Regions from separate parts of the Homo sapiens genome. Here all the other regions are linked to region 1. The links are contacts of gene promoters, found by promoter capture Hi-C in blood cells and fetal thymus (Javierre and others, 2016). All regions are on one chromosome and are shown on one strand. The core of a region is centred on a gene start or on the middle of the fragment in contact, and the rest is flanking DNA. Distances in the headings are between cores, read along the strand shown. Region 1 holds the start of DISC1 (DISC1 scaffold protein). Region 2 overlaps EGLN1 (egl-9 family hypoxia inducible factor 1). Region 3 overlaps EGLN1 (egl-9 family hypoxia inducible factor 1).

What was found. Contacts are between HindIII fragments. The CHiCAGO score rates a contact against its expected background, and 5 or more counts as called.
Region 2: a contact is called between a fragment that was not itself captured here and the fragment with the promoter of DISC1 in region 1, in 6 of 17 cell types (activated CD4 T cells, non-activated CD4 T cells, monocytes and 3 more). The highest score is 7.4, in activated CD4 T cells.
Region 3: a fragment that was not itself captured here is called in contact with the fragment with the promoter of DISC1 in region 1 in 1 of 17 cell types (neutrophils); the score reaches 5.5 in neutrophils.

What each region holds. Positions count from the first base shown.
Region 1 is chr1:231,625,264-231,628,348 of GRCh38, reverse strand. It overlaps DISC1 (DISC1 scaffold protein), which reads right to left and starts at 1,559. Exons shown (of 13, transcript NM_018662.3): 1 at 1,415-1,559. The coding sequence starts at 1,481. All of the region lies in intron 5 of TSNAX-DISC1 (TSNAX-DISC1 readthrough (NMD candidate)), which reads right to left. RefSeq lists silencers at 1-40, 1,014-1,073, 1,404-1,663. The HindIII fragment of the contact is 7,020 bases long and covers 1-3,085 here.
Region 2 is chr1:231,380,000-231,383,084 of GRCh38, reverse strand. The region is part of intron 1 of EGLN1 (egl-9 family hypoxia inducible factor 1); the gene reads left to right. Among named protein-coding and RNA genes, the nearest start is that of EGLN1, 41 kb to the left of the region's middle. The HindIII fragment of the contact is 1,771 bases long and covers 682-2,452 here.
Region 3 is chr1:231,403,212-231,406,296 of GRCh38, reverse strand. All of the region lies in intron 1 of EGLN1 (egl-9 family hypoxia inducible factor 1), which reads left to right. Among named protein-coding and RNA genes, the nearest start is that of EGLN1, 18 kb to the left of the region's middle. The HindIII fragment of the contact is 1,772 bases long and covers 517-2,288 here.

The sequences.
Region 1 (3,085 bases), core at 310-2,809:
CGATCAGTACAAAAGGCAGTAATTACTACCCCCATTTTTCTTTTATCTTTTTTGTAAACAGATGAGAAAACAGGCTCAAAGTCAAAGAGCCCGAAAAGCGGGTATCTTGTCCACGGTTCTTTTTGCTCTGTGGCACAGAACTGAACCTCAGAGGACTTCATGTACCATGCCGAGCACAGGAGAACTACATGTGTTTTTAAATGCCCTACTATTCCTGCATTAATCAAATCAAACTGGTATTCTCACATTACTCCCAATTATTTAGATTTTGCCTAGGAAAAATAGCAACTAAGGTTTTTTGAGAGTGCACTGGGTATTTCAGGCATTGGGCGAGGTGCTTCACTTCCACCATCACAGTTAAACCGCATAACAACCCTATGAAGCAGGTACTGTCATAGTCTCCTGCATGTCCAGGATTGACATGCAGGCAGACTGTCTCCAAACCCCAGTTCCTATGGTCCTAGTGCTGTCCAATTCAAATTTGTCCAGTTGATGATAACACTTTGCAAATTGATTTCCCATACAACAAACCTAACGACACATGGAGGCCAGGCTATGAGTGTTCTCCTTTACATTTCAGGAGACTGAGGCTCTGAGAGGTTAAGCGACTGACCCAGCCCTGTCCTCACCCAGCAAGAACACAAGGCAGCACTCCCTAACTCCAAATCTCACTGTCTTTGGAAAACCTCACATTTTAAGAGTGAGAAGGTAGAAGTCCTGTCATTGTTGAAAAACAACCATCCACAATCATCACTAAGAGTTGACAGCGAGACCCGCGCTCCAGGCGGTGGAAACCGAGCAGTCTCCGGCTTGGGCCATCCCCGTTACTGTAGCCAAGTAGGAAGTGGGCGGTGACACTGATTTCAGAGCAGCCCCTAGGGAAGGCACAGGCACCAGTTCCTGGTCCCGCTCCCAGCCTCCTCCCTCCAGGTCCCCGAAGGGGTGGAACCCGAGATCCAGCTGGGTCTTGGGGTTAAGGCGGGCGGGACGTCCCCTGTCCCGAGGGGGCGCAGGCTGGGGCGCACCGCAACGAGAGTGCAGGCGGCGCAGGTGTCCCAGGACGGGGACGGATCCAAACCCCAAGCACGCCTCTGCAACCTTTCCCGGTCACCTGGACACGCAGCGGGGGCGCGGGTCAGACTCCTACAGTTTCGCAAACTGCGGGTCCCGGGGATCGCTGCACAGTCCTGGGTCAGGGACCTGGCCCGGCTCGGCGCTGGTGCCGGGCTGGCAGCCCAAGACTCGCTCTTCTCTCAACCTCGCACGCCTCGCGTCCTGCCTCAGTTTCCCTCACCTCGAAAGGGGTTGTTAACAGAGGCACGCCCTGACCTACGCGACTTCCTGGGGGCCAGAGCGCGCCCTCCTTGCCAGGACCCCCCCAGGACGTGCTAGGACTCTGTGGCAGCTCCCCTACCTGCGCGGTGGCTCACGCCGCCGCCGCCGGCGGCGGCTGGGGCGCCCTGAGGACCCCCGCCTGGCATGCGCCCCGCTGCCAGCTCCTCCCGCTCCGCCTGGGCTGCCTCCTGCTCCTTCCCCGAGGCCAGAGGCGGGGGGAAGGGAGCAGCGCGCTGGACGGGAAGTGGGGAGGGGGCTGGCGACGAAGGGGGCGGCTCCTTTCTTCTCCTCAGCGAGTCCGCTGTTTCCTTTCCAGCATTGGCCCCTGACGCGCGCGCGCGCGCGCACACACACACACACAGACATACACACACACGCTGCTGGAGCGGGCGGGGCCAGCGGCCCTCACAGCCTGTCTCCGGGATCTCAGGACCTCAGAAAGTTTGCTTTCACTCTGACTCATTTCTGGAAGAAACAAGAGGGGAAGTGCAGGAAGCCTCCAGGATGGGGTACAGGAGGGCGCCTTCCAGACGCATGATTTAAGAAGTGACCACACAGTGATGGAGAAGATGGAGGGATGTGAGGGGCTCATTTATACAAAGTGGGGGCGGGGGGGAGGAGTGGGGATAACTGATGACCCTGGAAAGAGATGAGTGGGAGCAGATGTTTAGAAATGAGATAGGATTCCAACTTCTAGCATCTTCCAGCAGCTCCGGGCTGGTTCCAGGACACAGAAGTCCATGCAAGCTCCTAGGCAACTGACTCCCCCCTTCACCCCTTCTCTTTGGTTCATTCAAGGAAGCTACTGGAGCACCCCCTAGGTAGCACCTGCTATAGGACAATGGGTACAAGGAAGGGCTACACATGAGCTCTTTGCCCTTAAGCAGCTCACCTCCAGGCTAGAAGGAGAGCACGTGCATAGAAAACGAAATCACAACATGAGATAGAATGTGCCATGTGCCAGAGGCTTGGCACAAAACCTCTTGCAATGGTTCAGGGATAGGAGGGAGAACTGTGAAGAAGAAGGGTTGGGGAGACGTTCTGCAGGAATGGGAAGGATCTCCTTAGAACGAGAGGAGTTAGAACTAGAGGAAGGCTGAGGTCCTTCAAAAGCTGAAGATCTTAAGACTGAAAGCACACAGTTGTACTTAAAATCAGTGTGTTTGCCCGGCATGGTAGTGCACTCCTGTAGTCCCAGCTACTCGGCAGGCTTAGGTGGGAGGATTGCTTGAGTCCAGGAGTTCAAGGCTTCAGTGAGCTATGATGGGGCCACTGCACTCCAGCCCAGGTGACAGAGAGAGACCCCCCACACCCCCACCACATCTCTAAAAATAAATAAATGTATGAATATCTAAGGCCAGGCACTTTGGGAGGCCAAGGTGGAAGTTCACTTGAGTCCAGAAGTTTGAGATCAGCCTGGGCAACATAATAAGAACCTCTTTTTTTTTTTTAACTTTTAAGTTCAGTTTGTTACATAGGTAAACTTGTGTCATGGGTGTTTGTTGTACAGAGTATTTTGTCACCCAGGTATTAAGCCTAGTGCTCATTAGTTGTTTTTCTTGATCCTCGCCCTTCTCCTACCCTCCGCCCTCCAAAAGGCACCAGTGTGTGCTGTTCCCCTCTATGCGTCCATGTGTTCTCATCATTTATCTCCCACTTATAAGTGAGAACATGCAGTGTTTGGTTTTCTGTTCTTGTGTTAGTTTGCTAAGAATAATGGCCTCCAGCTCCATCCATGTCCCTGCAAAAG
Region 2 (3,085 bases), core at 318-2,817, 250 kb after region 1:
TTTTTTTTTTTTTTTTTTTTTTTTTTTGAGACAGAGTTTCGCTCTGTTGCCCAGGCTGGAATGCAGTGGTGCGATGTCGGCTCACTGCACCCTCCACCTCCCAGGTTCAAGCGATTCTCCTGCCTCAGCCTCCCGAGTAGCTGGGATTACAGGCGTGTGCCACCCCACCTGGGTGATTTTTGTATTTTTAGTAAAGATGGGGTTTCACCATGTTGGCCAGGCTGGTCTCAAACTTCTGACCTCAGATGATCCACCTGCCTCGGCCTCCCAAGGTGCTGGGATTACCGGCTTGAGCCACCATGCCCGGCCTGCCAAGCACCTTTTATGGAAGGTTTATTTAAGGCAAAAATGCTAGTGTGCTTTTAGGATTCAGCTGAACCTAATTGGAATCAAATAACAGAATTCCTTTATGGGGAACTAACAGAACCAGCAGGAGTCATAAGGCTCAGGGTACAGTCCCTAATAGTAGGCCATTAGATTAACTAGATTCATGTATATGTTCATGTAAGAGCAGTGGTCCCTATACAGTGTGTAGCCATAACACCTTTCTTGAGTACCATTCTTCTCTAATACTGTCATAATTTCTAATATCCACTATGTTAATTACTAAATTCTCTGGCTTTGAGATGAGATAAGGCTTCTTGAGTTGTCTCACTGGAGTAGGGTTTTTGATTACAAGCTTTCCTCATTTACTGATGATTATTTATATCCAGTCTTGGGCTTGCATGTTAACTAAGTGCTCCAGGATGAATGTCAGGAACCTCTCACTCATGTCCTCTAGTCCATTAAAACAAATAATAATTACACTGTTTGTGCCAAAATAACTTAAGGAATTTAAATCGTAACTCTTCTAGACCCTGGAATTGAAACAGATGTTTTACTTTTAATCTCTGTATCCTCATGCCTAGTGCAGTACCTGCTCAGTGAGCCTCAAGAAGTGCCAGAATGTATGTTTGTAATGTCAAGCAGCTAAGTGTTTTGTTCTGTTTGTATTTTTGTTTTTAATGCCGAATTGCAGACTCTTCCAACGAATTATATTAATAATATAGCAAGTTTGCCATAGCTGTCAGAATATCTGTCTTAACAGTGATACTTCCTTGCATGGGCTAGAATGAGGTTGTATAATTCCCTGGGTGGGGATCAAGCTGAGACCTGCTCAGGATCCCCAGTCTCCTTGTGGAGAGAGGTTGCTCTGTCTTCCTCATGAAGTTTGCAGTGGGAGTGGTGTGTGTGATATAAATACAGAGCCCTGCTTGGGAATCTAAGAAAGAGTTGTGCAGTGCTGGTAAGATTATAGCTGAGGTTAACAAATTGTAGATCTCTGTTCTGACAGCAGAGCTAGACAGCTCAAAATATAATGTGTTTCACCAGATGAATTTCTTATTTGTAAAGCATAACTTTATCAATTCTTCACTAAAAGGGAAATGAAAGCTCAGAGAGTACTAAGGCATCATGACATATCTCTAGATTATACTGTCGGGAGCATCATACTTAAGTTGATTTTTAAGTGTATATTTAAGTTTTTTTAATCATGGGCTAGAATTAGAGCCTAATAAGGAAAGTAGTTTGGTGTTAGATTATTAAACAATTCATAATTCTTGGGCCACTTGGAGAGTGATTTGGATCAATGCTATTTCTTCTTCAATAATCTTTCATTGTTTTTCTGTATTTTTCATATTTCTATGAACATGGGAAGAATCTTGGATTTTTAAAAACTTTACATTGATAATTAATATAATTATATTCTGCCTTCCTGTACCGATAATAAAAACTTTGTATTAACATACTCTTCCACACAAGCAGAGTAAAAAGGTTGAAATTGTTGTTGTGTCATATGACAGCGGTTAACAACCAAAGAGCTCTTAAAAATCAGTAGGGGGCCAGGTGTGGTGGCTCACACCTGTAATCCCAGTACTTTGTGAGGCCAGAGTGGGAGGATCACTTGAGACCAGAAGTTCAAGACCAGCCTGAACAACGTAGTGAGAGCCCATCTCTAGAAAACATTAAAAAATTAGCCAGGTGTGGTAGCGTGTACCTGTACTCCCAGCTACTTGGGAGGATTGCTTGATCCCAGATGTTCAAAGTTGCAGTGAACCATGATCACGCCACTGCACTCCAGCCTGGGTGACAGAGTGAGACCCTGTCTCTAAAATAATAATAATAACTCAGTAGGGAAAAGATTAACCCAGTAGAAAAGTGGATAAAGGATATGAGCAAGCAGTTGAAGAATTAAATGGCCAATAAAATATGAAAAATGCTGACTTAAAAATATAAGATGTAATTAAAACATTAGTAAGATAAATGTTACCTATCAAATTGAGCTGTTTTCAAAGATTAAAACTTACTATGCTGGGTTGGCAAATGGTTAAAAAGATGTGTGCACTCATACAAAGCCAGTAGGAATATAAGCTCATGCAATAATTCTGGAGAACATTTCAGCAATCAGAAAGCTTTAAGACCTAATAATTTCACTTATAGTAATTTAATTTTAGGAAAATATCAAGGATTTACAAAGATTAAGCTCCAAAACTATTGTTGATCACAATATTATTATAATAGCATTTTTCTAATTTTTAAGGAAACTATATGCCCTTATATGTCTTTTTAAAATATATATATACCTATCATTTACACTTAGAAATGAATTAGTCAAAAAATTAGTCAGAAATCATTTATAATAAGTCAGCTTTTGACCACTGAGTTGTTTACTGTGATCAAGAAAGCAGCAAGGCTTAAGGAGTTCTTATTCTTTTTTTTTTTTTTTTTTTTGAGACGGAGTCTCGCTCTGTCGCCCAGGCTTGAGTGCAGTGGCGCGATCTCCGCTCACTGCAAGCTCCGCCTCCCGGGTTCACGCCATTCAAGGAGTTCTTATTCTAAATGACTTTATTTCATGACAATCTGTTCTCTGTTCTCTTCTCTCTGTACTCCCTTGGCAATCTGTGGCAGGCACACGGCTTCAGCTATCCCATGCGAAGATGGCTCCTAAATTTACATTTCCAGTCATGACTTTTTTTTGGAGTTCCACACAAGTTTCCAACTGCCCTTTGAACATCCCCACCTGGATGGCCTTCCAGCATGACCTGTT
Region 3 (3,085 bases), core at 153-2,652, 220 kb after region 1:
TTTTTCCTCTTGTCCTTTTAACCCTGTCCTGTCCCCTGCTCCCACTGCCTCTGTTCTCGTTTGTTTTGCATTTTTGTTTTTCCTTGTAACTGGCATTTCAGTAGTATTAACCTGAAATTTTTTTTTTTTTTGAGACGGAGTCTCTCTGGCTCTGTCGCCCAGGCTGGACTGCAGTGGTGCAATCTTGGCTCACTGCAAGTTCCGCCTCCCGGGTTCATGCCATTCTCCTGCCTCAGCCTACCTGAATTAAAAAAAAAAAAAAAAAAAGCCTTAGTAATAGTAGTGCTCCGCGGCTGGGGAATTGGGTGGGGGTGGGGGGTGGGGGGTGCTTACTAACTAAAATGAAACTAGAATTCATACTAGTTTTTTTATATTAAAATAGTTTCTATAATGGTTAGATCTGAAACATCTCTGGATAGTTTTGGTAGAAAGTATCTGCAGAATATGGAAGAATAATTTGTTCGTATTGACAATTTTCAGGAACTATGCTTTGATGTTGCATAGTAGCTGTAAGCTTTTTCTTTAATGTGTGCCTACTCTAGAGATTCTTGGTGTTTCTTCCTCTTAGAATTGTCTGGGGAAAGGGAGAACAGTAGTGTGGGGTGGGGAAGATGTTTGTGGACAGAAGCCAGGAATGGGAATAGGACCTGCTAGTATTGCCTTGGATTCTTGTCATCTGGCTCTCTACTACTGAGCAAGGCACTCAACAACTCTGCCAGTCTCTCCATCTATGAAATGGGAGTAATGCTGACCTAATTAACAGAAGAGTTGTTGAGTAGATGATTATTTGTAAAAGACTTTTTAAAAAAGTAGTTATATTGGCTGGGCATGGTGGCTCACACCTGTAATCCCAGCGCTTTGGGAGGCTGAGGTGGGCGGATCACGAGGTCAGGAGATCGAGACCATCCTGGCTAACATGGTAAAACCCTGTCTCTACTAAAAATACAAAAAAAGCCGGGCATGGTGGCGGGCACCTGTAGCCTGTAGTCCCAGCTACTCAGGAGACTGAGGCAGGAGAATGGCGTGAACCCGGGAGGCGGAGCTTGCAGTGAGGCCAGATAGCGCCACCGCACTCCAGCCTGGGCGACAGAACAAGACTCCGTCTCAAAAAAATAATAAATATAAATAAAATAAAAAGTAGTTTTATTTCTCAGCAGTGCCTTTTCAGATTAGGACTTGGTCTTAGTTGCCCTTAACTCTGTTCTTGGTGTTGGTTAACATTGTCATCAGAAGTTCAGATTCAATTTTAGATTCAGAATTCTTGACTTGGTTTTACTGGGATGTCAGAACCTTATTTTTAATTAAAGCGAATCTATTGTTGCTTAGGCAGTTGGCACATAGATTTGGCACTGTGAGAAAGGAAATAGTGTTCAGTTGATAAGGGCATCTTGAACTGAATTTCAGATAGTTGTGTTACTTAATGGGTAATGAAATAACTCCAGCTGAGGAACACCTTGATTAAAAAATCTTTCTCTCCTCATGCCTTCTCCGTTAGCAGATTGAAGTCAAGTGGCAATATTTTATTTATAATCATGAATTTAATTATTTAAGCTATATTAAAAAAATTGAAACCCTTAGATGTTAATTAATTTTAAAAACTAGTGATGGATGCAGGTAAGCTAGAATGATTGGATCAAATCTCACACACAAATGAGTTTATTCTTTAAAAAAAAATTTTTTTTTTAGAGACGGGGTCTTGCTATGTTGCCCAGGATGGTCTTGAACTCATGACCTCAAGCAATCCTCCTGCCTCACCCTCCTGAATAGCTGGGATTACAGGCATGAGCCACTGTGCCTGGCCTTATTTTACAGGTCTTACTGACGTAAGCCCATATTTGATTTGTTTTACAGTTTGTTGATATTGCTTAGTATTTCTTTTATTTACTGTATAGTCTATAACTTAATAGGTAGCAGTAAAAACAAAATAATAAAAGTTATTTATTTTCCTCCTAAAATAATGGGGGGTATTTATGGCTTATTTACCCTTAATAATGTCTTTTAAGTGGCCATTATAAAATATGTAGAATTACTTTGGTGTCTGTGCTGTCAAATTTGGCTCATGTAGTAATTGTGCTCGTAGTAAAAAGTGTATTTTAAGCAGCCTGTGTTGTCCTTAAGAAATTTCATGTAGGTTCCACACTTTTTTCTAAAATTAATTATTCTTAACATTTTTAACAGTCAAAACTTGAAACCATTAAGATGTGAACTGCTGTATGTATTATAATAGGGAGTAGCTTTTTTAGTGTTGACATTGTATAAAATTAGTTATTTACAAAGATAGTAAAGCTTATTGTTTGAAAATAAGGAATTGAGGAAATGAAGTTAAACAACATGTATTCATACCTATGTTTTTCTTATAGAAATATATAATATCTAGGTATGTAGAAATGTAAACACTTTGAATTATACAATACTTTGAATAATTTAATAACAATATAGCTTAAATACTTGTAGTGTTATCTTTTCAGTTTGGGAATTGCATATATATTTTAACTGTAAAAATCTTTTTTTTTTTTTTTTTTTTTTTTTGAGATGGAGTCTGGCTCTGTTGACCATGCTGGAGTGCAGTGGCTCACTGCAACCTCCACCTCTTCCCAGGTTCAAGCGATTCTCCTGCCTCAGCCTCCCAAGTAGCTGAGTGCCAAGTACAGGCACGCACCACTGGGCCTGGCTAATTTTTGTATTTTTAGTAGAGACAGGGTTTCGCCATGTTAGCCAGGCTGGTCTTGAACTCCCAACCTCAGGTGATCCACCTCCCTTGGCCTCTGAAAGTTCTGGGATAGCAAGCATGAGCCACTGCACCCAGCCTGTAAAAATCTTACATGTCATGGGAAAGAGGCTGCTGCTTTGTTTATGACTTTATATAGTTTCTGATTATAAAAATAATACAGTGCTCCAAAGTAGATGAAGCAAAATCTGATAGAAATGAAAGGCACAATCAACAAATTACAATTATAGCTGGAAATTTCAATACTTCTTTCTCAGTAATTCTTAAATAGGAAATCAACAAGGATATAAAAGATTCTAACACTATCAACCAATTTGACCTGATTGACATCTGTAGAATATTCCTTGCATTAACAGC